3 separate regions of the Homo sapiens genome follow, and regions 1 and 3 are each linked to region 2. Evidence: promoter capture Hi-C in 16 types of primary human blood cells and fetal thymus (Javierre and others, 2016). All regions are on one chromosome and are shown on one strand. The core of a region is centred on a gene start or on the middle of the fragment in contact, and the rest is flanking DNA. Distances in the headings are between cores, read along the strand shown.

Region 1 (2,700 bases), core at 92-2,591, 130 kb after region 2:
TGGAGACAGGGTCTCCCCATGTTGCCCAGGCTGGCCTCAAACTCTTGGGCTCAGGTGATCCTCCCACCTCGGCCTCCCAAAGTGCTGGGATTACAGGCGTGGGCCACTGTTCCTGGCCCAACTTTAACATTTTGATGAACTGCCAAAATTTTCCACAGTAGCTGTACCATTTTACATTTCCACCAACAATCTTTGAGGGTTCCAGTTTCTCCACATCACCAGCAGTTATAATTCATGTTTGATTACAGCCATTCTACTGGGTATGAAGTGGTATCTACTTGAGATTTTGACTTTCATTTCTCTAACGACTAATGATGTCTGAGCATGTTTTCATGTGCTTATTGGCCATTTGTATGTCTTTAGAGAAATGTCTATTCAAGTCCTTAGTCCAGTTTTCAGTTCGGTTCTTTTTATTGTTGTAACAGTTTTTTGTATGTTGTAGATACAAGTCACCTAAAGATAAGTGATTCACAGATTCTCCCAATTTGTGGTTTGTCTCTTCACTTTCTTGATGGTATCCTTTGAAGTATAATTTCTAATTTTGGTGAATTACAATTTATTTTTTTCTTTTGGTGTATCTAAGAAACCATTGCCTAATCTAAGCTTAATGGAAATTTATTGTTTTATCTTCATTTAAGAGTTTTACATTTTTACCTCTTACATGTGAGTCTGATTCATTTTAAAAATAATTTTTCAGGCTTTTATTTGCAATATATTTTTAAAATTTTAAATGTAAGATACATATAAAATTTACTATCTTAACCATTTTTAAGTGTACAGTTCAACAGTGTTGAGTGCACTCACAATTATGCAACCAATCTCCAGAACTCCCCTTCACCCCCACCACCCCTCCAACTCTCCACCTTGACAGTCACCATTCTACTTTATGTCTACAGTAAGTGCCTCGTGTGGAATCATACCACATTTGTCTTTGACTGGCATATTTCACTTAGCATATGTTCTCAAGGTTCATCCATGTTGTAGTATGTATCAAAATTTCCTTCCTTTTTTAAGGCCAAATAATATTCAGTTGTATGTATATAGCACATTTTGTTTACCTATCTGTCAGTGGACACTTGGGTTGCTTGTGCCTTTGGGTAACTGTGAATAATGCTGCTGTGAATATGGGTATACAGATACCTCTGTGACCCTGCTTTCAGTTCTTGTGGGTATATACCCATAAGTGGAATTGCTGGAGCACACAGTTATTCTAATTTTTTCAGGATCAGCCGTACTGTTTTCCACAGCAGCCATACTAGTCTACAGTAACAGCACACAAGGATTTCAACTTTTCCACATTCTTGCCTATACTTGTTATTTTTTATTTTTTTTTAAATAGTGGCCATCCTAATAGGTGTGAAGTATCTCAGTGTGGTTTTAATTTGCATCTTCCTAATGATTAGTGGTGAACATAATTTCATGTACTTGTTGGCCATTTGTATATCTCTTTGGAGAGATGTCTCAAGTCATTTTGAATGAGTTAAATCATTCAAATGGGTTAAATCCCTTAAAATGGTTAAGGTGGTAGATGGGTATTAAAAAAATAGGTTGTTTGCTCTTTTATTGTTGAAGTTCCTTGTATATTCTAGATGTTAACCTCTTATCAGATGCATGATTTGCAAATATTTTCTCCCATTCTGTAGGCTGCCTTTTTTTTTTTTTTTAAATGCACAGGGGTTTTGCATTTTGGTGTAGTCTAGTTTGTTTTTACTTTTGTTGCCTGTGCTTTTGGTGTCATACCCAAGTCACCGCTGACTCCAATGAAGTTTCTCCTGTGTTTTCTTCTAGGAGTTAGAGTTTTAGCTTTTAAATTATGTCTTTGATCTATTTTGAGTTAACTTTTGTATATGGTGTGAGTGTCCAGCTTTTTTGCCTAAGGATAGCTGGTTTTCCCAACACCATTTGTTGAAAAGATGTTCTTTCCCCATTGAATGGTCTTGGCATCCTGTGGAAAATCATTTGACCATATATGCCAGGGTTTATTTCTGGGCATGCTATTCTATTCTGCACTTCTGTCTGTACATATTTATGCCAGTGCCACATTATTTTGATTACTGTAGCTCTGTAATAATAAGCTTTGAAATCAGGAAGTATGCGACCTCCAGCTTTGTTCTTTTTCAAGATTGTTTTGGCTACCTGGGGTTCCTTGAGATTCGATGTAAATCTTAGGATGGATTTTTCTATTTCCACACACAAAAAAATCAGTTGGGAATTTGATGGGGGGGGGGTACATTGAATCTGTAGCTCACTTTTGATAGTACTGTCATCTTAACAATATTAGGTCTTTCAATCCATGTGCGCAAGATGTCTTTCCATTTTTTGGCATTCTTAATTTCTTTGCAGCAAAATTTTGTAGTTTTCAATATACAAGACTTTTGCCTCTTTGGTTGTTTATTCCTGAGTATTTTCTTTATGATGCTACTGTACATAGAACTGTTTCCTTAATTTCCTTTGGAGATTGTTCAACAATGGTGGGTTGTTTTTTTTTTAAACTTTTAGAAATACATTTAATTCAATTCTATAAATATTAGTCATTCAAAATCTGGCCACAATCTTAGGAATACAAAAGTAAAATCCCAGTTCTTTTTTTCCTAAAATGTCACAATGTAATAGATCTAACATTGCATATATTTCTGATGTGATGAAATGTTGATATATATTTTCTATCGTGCAAACTACAGCTCTAAAATTTTTCAAAGA
Region 2 (2,761 bases), core at 213-2,712:
TCATGGCTGTGATCCCCCAAGTTGTGTCCACAGTGCTGGGCAGTGGACAGATCTTTTGGTATGGTTCCCCTAAACTAGTAAGAGACTATGGGAGCAGGGATGTTACGTGTCTCTTCCTGAAGTTTTAAATTAGCCGTCATGGAGAAACCTCAACATGGGAAGGCTGATAACTCCATGCATGTTCTAGCTGATTATTAATTATTCTTATCTTGAGATAAAAATAATGGAATTTATCGGAGGTGGGGAGGGGACCCTGTTCTGATTGATGCCTCTTAAGAGTTTTCGATTATTGAAATTACTGTTTTCTGAAAAGAATCTACTTATTACTTTGGGAGTTTGGCAGGAACAAGGCTGCCTCCTTGATCTTTGGCCCCTCAATTCCCTTACAGGTTACTCGGTAGGATTGCTGTAAGGATTATTGCGGCAATAAAGTTAACACATCCCTTGTTTTTGAACCATTACCAGCTGTGTGACCTTGGGCAAGCCCTTTCACCTCTCAGCTAGTTTCCTCTTATGAAAAATGGGGAATAAATTTAAAACATGAGATATGCAATAAACGATCTAACACCCATGCCTGCTATACGGTTGCCTGCTATACAGTTAAGTATTCAAAAGAGGACGTACCCAGGGGTAGTTACTGTTAGCACAAGTCCTATGGATACTATGAAAAACAGGGACAGACCACCCAGGCTTTCTACAAACGAGTCAGTTTTTTGCCTTTGAAGTTAACCTCTAACCTTGTGAAACGGCGACAGATAAGGACATGGGGTTCAAGAAAACGGGGCATAGTGGAAAATCAGGGGCATTAGCACCCAACGATGTGCGTTGAAACCCTAGTTGTTTTTCTCCTTCCCAGTTGCTGAAATCAGCCCTTCTGGCCGATTCGCGGGGTTCTCACCGGGAAGTTGGGGCTGTCGCGACCGTCCGCGGGGCCTCGGGAGCTCCTGTGGGGCTGGGCCCGGGACCTGTCCCCGGGGAGGCCGCCCAGTTTGGGCGGCCCGGAGCGGGGCGCGCCGCTGGGAAGGGGCCGGGTCGAGGCAGGCAGGCGCCTGGGAGCTGGGGCAGCCCCGGGTGGTCGGGTCGCGCGCCGAGGCGCAGGCCGAGGGCTCGCCCGGGCCTTTGTTGGCCGCCGGAGCGGTCCCTGCACGCGCCGGGAGGATCTCAGCCAGATGTGGCAGCGGGGCGGCGGGGAGCAGGCCGGCGCCCAGAGCTGGGACCCGAGACCGCGGCTCCGCTCCGGACCTCGCCGTGACACCGATGAGCCGGGCCAGCCTCCCGAACGCTCCGCAGGCTGCGTGGCGGCGCCCCTAAGTGACAGTCGCGCGGGCCACTGGTGGGGCGCGGGGCGCGGGGCGCGGGGCCCGCGGGGCCGGCCAATGGCTGGCGGGGTCGGGGCGGCCCGGCGGGGCGGGGCGGGGCGGGCGCTCCAGCGGCGGGGGCGGAGCCGGCGGGGCGGGCGGGGCGGCCCGCAGCGGCGGCGGCAGCGGCGGCGGCGGCTACAGCAGCTCCGCCGGCAGCCGCGGGAGCACGGCGACGCCAGCGGCGGGTGAGGGGCTCGCGGCGGCAGCGGCGGCGCGCGGGGGCGGGAGGGGGCGCGGGGCGGCTGCGCGGAGGGCGCGGGAGTTGGGGGCGGCGCCGGCGGCCGGGCTGGCGGCCCCGGGCTGCGGGAGATCCACCTGCTGGTAAAGGAGCCTACTGCGCCGCGGCCCGGCCGGAGCTCTGTGCGGGGGAGCTGTTGGCGCCTCTGGGCGCGGGGCCGGCTCCGGGAGCGGCTGGGCCTCGGGGGCGGGCGGCGGGGCGCGGGCCGGGCCGTCCTCCCAGCGTCCCTGCCCCGCACCGCGCACCCCTCGGGGTCGCGCGCCCTCTCTGCGGCCGGCTCGGCGCCTGGTGCGTTCCTGGCGCTCCCCGGCGTGGCGGGGCTCGGCGACTTTGGGGGAAAGTGGAGCAAAGTGCTGATCCGGGGGGTGCGGAGGGGGAGGGACAGCTGCCTGTGGGACCCGGGGGCTGCGCGGGAGTCGGCGCTTTCGCGGGGGCCGCGGGGCAGGTGGGCGGGGCCGGACGGTCCGAGGCGCAGGGGCAGGGGCTGCTCCCGAGGGGACCGGCCGTGCAGCCTTCGCAGGGAATTTTCACACAAAGTGAAGGGCTGCGGGGCCCGCGTGAAAGAGCAGCCCCCGTTTCCCCAGGCCTCAGCTCTCTCCGTAATGAGGAAGCTGCAGTAGGACCCTGAGGCTGGGTCTCGGTGACTCCACCAAGTGTGCCAGGTGACATCTCGGAGGCGAGCTTTTCTGAGCTGGCAGTCGAGCCACTTGCACACCCGCCTTTATTCCTCGCAACAGTGTGTTTCTCTGGAGCGGTTTCATTGCCTACATTCCGCATTGGAAAATAGAAGCAGGCACAATGTATGCTTTGAATGCTTTCCACGTATTTTGCTGTTGTGCTTTTGCTGTTGGACAGATTATTTGATAAAAGATAATGACAGTCGTTCGTTGGAACGTAGACTGTAAATTTAGAATAAAAATATGCGTTTTGTGGTTTATGTTTCTTTTTCTGAATGTTTAAAAAACAGTTTGATGAACAGGTTATCTTGACATAGATTTCTTTAACCCACACGTGTAAACCCGAAAACGCACTGGGCGATGACATTACGTAAGCTGTATTAAAGAAAACTACTGACCCGTTTATAAATGGCAAATAAATGAATTTTGCCACAATTGTGGTGTGTAAAGTTATATAGGCTTACGTCATGGATTTTATTGATTCC
Region 3 (2,752 bases), core at 248-2,747, 250 kb after region 2:
TAATCCAAAAATCTGAAATCCAAAATGCTCCAATAAGCATTTCCTCTGAAGGTCATGTCAGTGCTAAAAAAGTGTCAGGTTTGGAAGTACTTCAAATTTTGGATTTTCAGATCAGGGATGTTCAACCTCTATTATGCTTTCACTTATTTTCAAAAAAGCAATGTAAGTATAATTTTTTCAAGTGTAAGCTTAGATCAAAAGCTTTGCATTTCTCTTAAATGCAAGAGGACACATATATCTTTTTGCATCACATCCCAGGGTTGCTCAGAGGCTCATCCCTGGATGTCAACCACACTTGCCTACTGTCAGCACTGACTGGCTGGTCGCTGGCCTCCCTGTGACAGGCCCACTGGGGAGACACCTCCATTCTGGCAGGTGTGACAAGTGGAGGGGCCATTGCACAGAGGCCCACAGCTGCCCCTCTCTGCTTTCCAGGACAGCCAGTTGCACCTGCCTCTAGGTGCCCACCTTTCTGTTGGCTGCTTTCGTTTTTAATCCCACTCTTCTTCAGACTGCCCTCCTTGCAGGGCCCCATATTCTGAACCAGGTGCAACCAATCCTAACATCCCTTGAGGCCCTGCTCTGACTGGTGCCAATAAGCTAAACCACAGCTGGCCAAGATAGGAAAAGTGATTTAACCTGCTGTCCCTCTAGGATGGGATTTTACCCAGATCTCCAGAGTCTCAGCCCAATAATGTGGGAACCACAGGTGTAAAGGCAAAGAGGAAAAAAGCAGGATACAGAAAACATTTTACAGCAAGGTGGCCCAACAGGGTCCCTCACATCACCTGCTGTGCCACTTTAACGTGGCTTCTGCTTAAATTTCAAGTTTAAAAAATTATATTTATTTTAAAGACAGGATCTTACTCTGTCAACTAAACTGGTCTCAAACTCCTTGCCTCAAGTGATCCTCCCACTGCAGCTTCCCAAAAAACTGGGATTACAGGTGTGAGCCTAAACTTGGAGCTTTTAAAGTACACAGTGTTGAGTTGTTAAGCCAGGACAAGACATCAAACAATCCAACTCCAACATGGCAAACTCGTAATGAAGGGAGAAGGAGAGGCAAAGGTGCTGCTGAGAAAACCTTTCACTAGAGAACGGAAAGCCCAGCCAGAGGTGGTGCGTGGACAGGGAGCACCCTGAAGACCAGCAAGCTAGCTGACACTCAAGGCCAGCTGAGCATCACATTTACAGGCTGTCACAGCCTCCCTGTCTTCCTGGGATTCTGCAAAACACAATTCCACAGGGAGGACAAGCACTTAGAATTCTCCCCTGGTACAAAGCCTGCTTGCTCACATTGGATCACTTGGAAACATAATAAATCCTTCCTTCCCCATTAATCTGTTACTGAGGCTCAATGTGATATAATCATTTTATATAGAGAATTCTGTCACTGAATCTTTATATCTAAAACCACTTCAGATAGCTAAAACATATGCCAGCCTTAAGCCAAATGCAGCTCCCTAAAGAAACCAGCACCCCAAAGAGACCACAGGATTATCCAAGAGCCACAGGCAACCAGAATAAAACTGGAGGAGCGAGGGTTCTGGCTGCCAAGAGTGGTCGATTTATGCGTGCCAAGGGACCAAGCCCCCACTGGTATAGGAAATGTATGCCATTTCTTTCCCCCCAGGGAATTTTCAGAGGAAGACATCCTTGCTCCACACAGGATCACACCAGGTCCACATTCCTCCAAGTCTCCTGTTCACTTCCTGGCCTCTCTGTGGGGTGAGGGATTACAATGGGCAGCAGGTGGTGACACCCTCCACCTTGAGAGGGACGTGTCAGATGCAGGAAAAGTTCACAGTGCTCTGATTAAATTATGTTTTGTTAGGACACCCCCTCCCCAGTGTTGGCATTGAAAGGTAACTAGCAGAAGAACTTGAAGCACACCTGTGTAACTCAAGGTCAGTCCCCAGGTGCTGCTTTGCTCTCTTTGGGCCTCAGTTTCCTAAACTGCACACTGGTAATGCACAGCCTGCAGCCTGAGAAGCATGTGAGAATGGAGCACGTGCAGCACCACAACTCCTTCCTGGGGCTGGAAGGGTCCAGAGTGTGCGGCACCCTGCCCCCCACTCACCCTCCACAGGCCAGCACAGGGGGAGTTTGGCTGCGGAGACGGACACACGCGCCCTGGGGCTGCAGCTGGCAAGAAGACAGGCTAGTGGAAGATTCAGTGCTCTCCGGTCTGAGGCTGCCAGCAATGCAAGGGACTGGAGACGGGCACATTCTGCCTGGCAAGGGATGGGGGCCAGGAGTGAGGGACCATGTGTGCAAATGCACGGGAGCTAGCTGGCCACCTCAGTCATTTACTCCTTCAGTGCACAGAGGGTCACCAAGGCCTGGGGCCAAGTGAGAGGACAGACACCCATAGGAGAAAGAGCCCAGACTCAGCCCTTAATGCCCAGAATGTCAGTGCAGGGGAACCACAGTCAGTGATGATGTTCCTAACACAGGTAAAATGACGACAGTCCTTTCTACAGCAAAAAGCTGCTCTGTGTCGTAAGAGCATATGATAGGGCACCAGATAAAAATCTGGTAAGTCACTCCACCTCTCTCTGAGCATCCCTTCCCTCCTCTGCAAAATGGAAATGAATAATAATTACCTCATCAGGTAGCTGGGGATTAATAAACTGATCCTAGACAGACATCTGGCCCAATGCCCAGCATATGGTAAATGCTCAGTGAGCCAACCTCTCAGGGCTGAGTTCCCCACCCACCCAAGACAGTCAGAACCAGGAGCCCCTGGCAA

The links. Contacts are between HindIII fragments. The CHiCAGO score rates a contact against its expected background, and 5 or more counts as called.
Region 1: a fragment that was not itself captured here is called in contact with the fragment with the promoter of MGAT4A in region 2 in 2 of 17 cell types (naive CD4 T cells and non-activated CD4 T cells); the score reaches 6.7 in naive CD4 T cells.
Region 3: a fragment that was not itself captured here is called in contact with the fragment with the promoter of MGAT4A in region 2 in 2 of 17 cell types (activated CD4 T cells and non-activated CD4 T cells); the score reaches 6.5 in activated CD4 T cells.

What each region holds. Positions count from the first base shown.
Region 1 is chr2:98,596,014-98,598,713 of GRCh38, reverse strand. No RefSeq gene overlaps it. Among named protein-coding and RNA genes, the nearest start is that of COA5, 11 kb to the left of the region's middle. The HindIII fragment of the contact is 1,472 bases long and covers 606-2,077 here.
Region 2 is chr2:98,729,833-98,732,593 of GRCh38, reverse strand. It overlaps MGAT4A (alpha-1,3-mannosyl-glycoprotein 4-beta-N-acetylglucosaminyltransferase A), which reads left to right and starts at 1,462. Exons shown (of 16, transcript NM_012214.3): 1 at 1,462-1,546. It overlaps LOC107985922 (a long non-coding RNA gene), which reads right to left and starts at 1,313. Exons shown (of 2, transcript XR_007087150.1): 1 at 899-1,313. RefSeq lists silencers at 514-808, 915-1,104, 1,125-1,454. The HindIII fragment of the contact is 4,047 bases long and covers 1-2,761 here.
Region 3 is chr2:98,480,208-98,482,959 of GRCh38, reverse strand. The region is part of intron 1 of INPP4A (inositol polyphosphate-4-phosphatase type I A); the gene reads right to left. Among named protein-coding and RNA genes, the nearest start is that of INPP4A, 37 kb to the right of the region's middle. The HindIII fragment of the contact is 2,587 bases long and covers 204-2,752 here.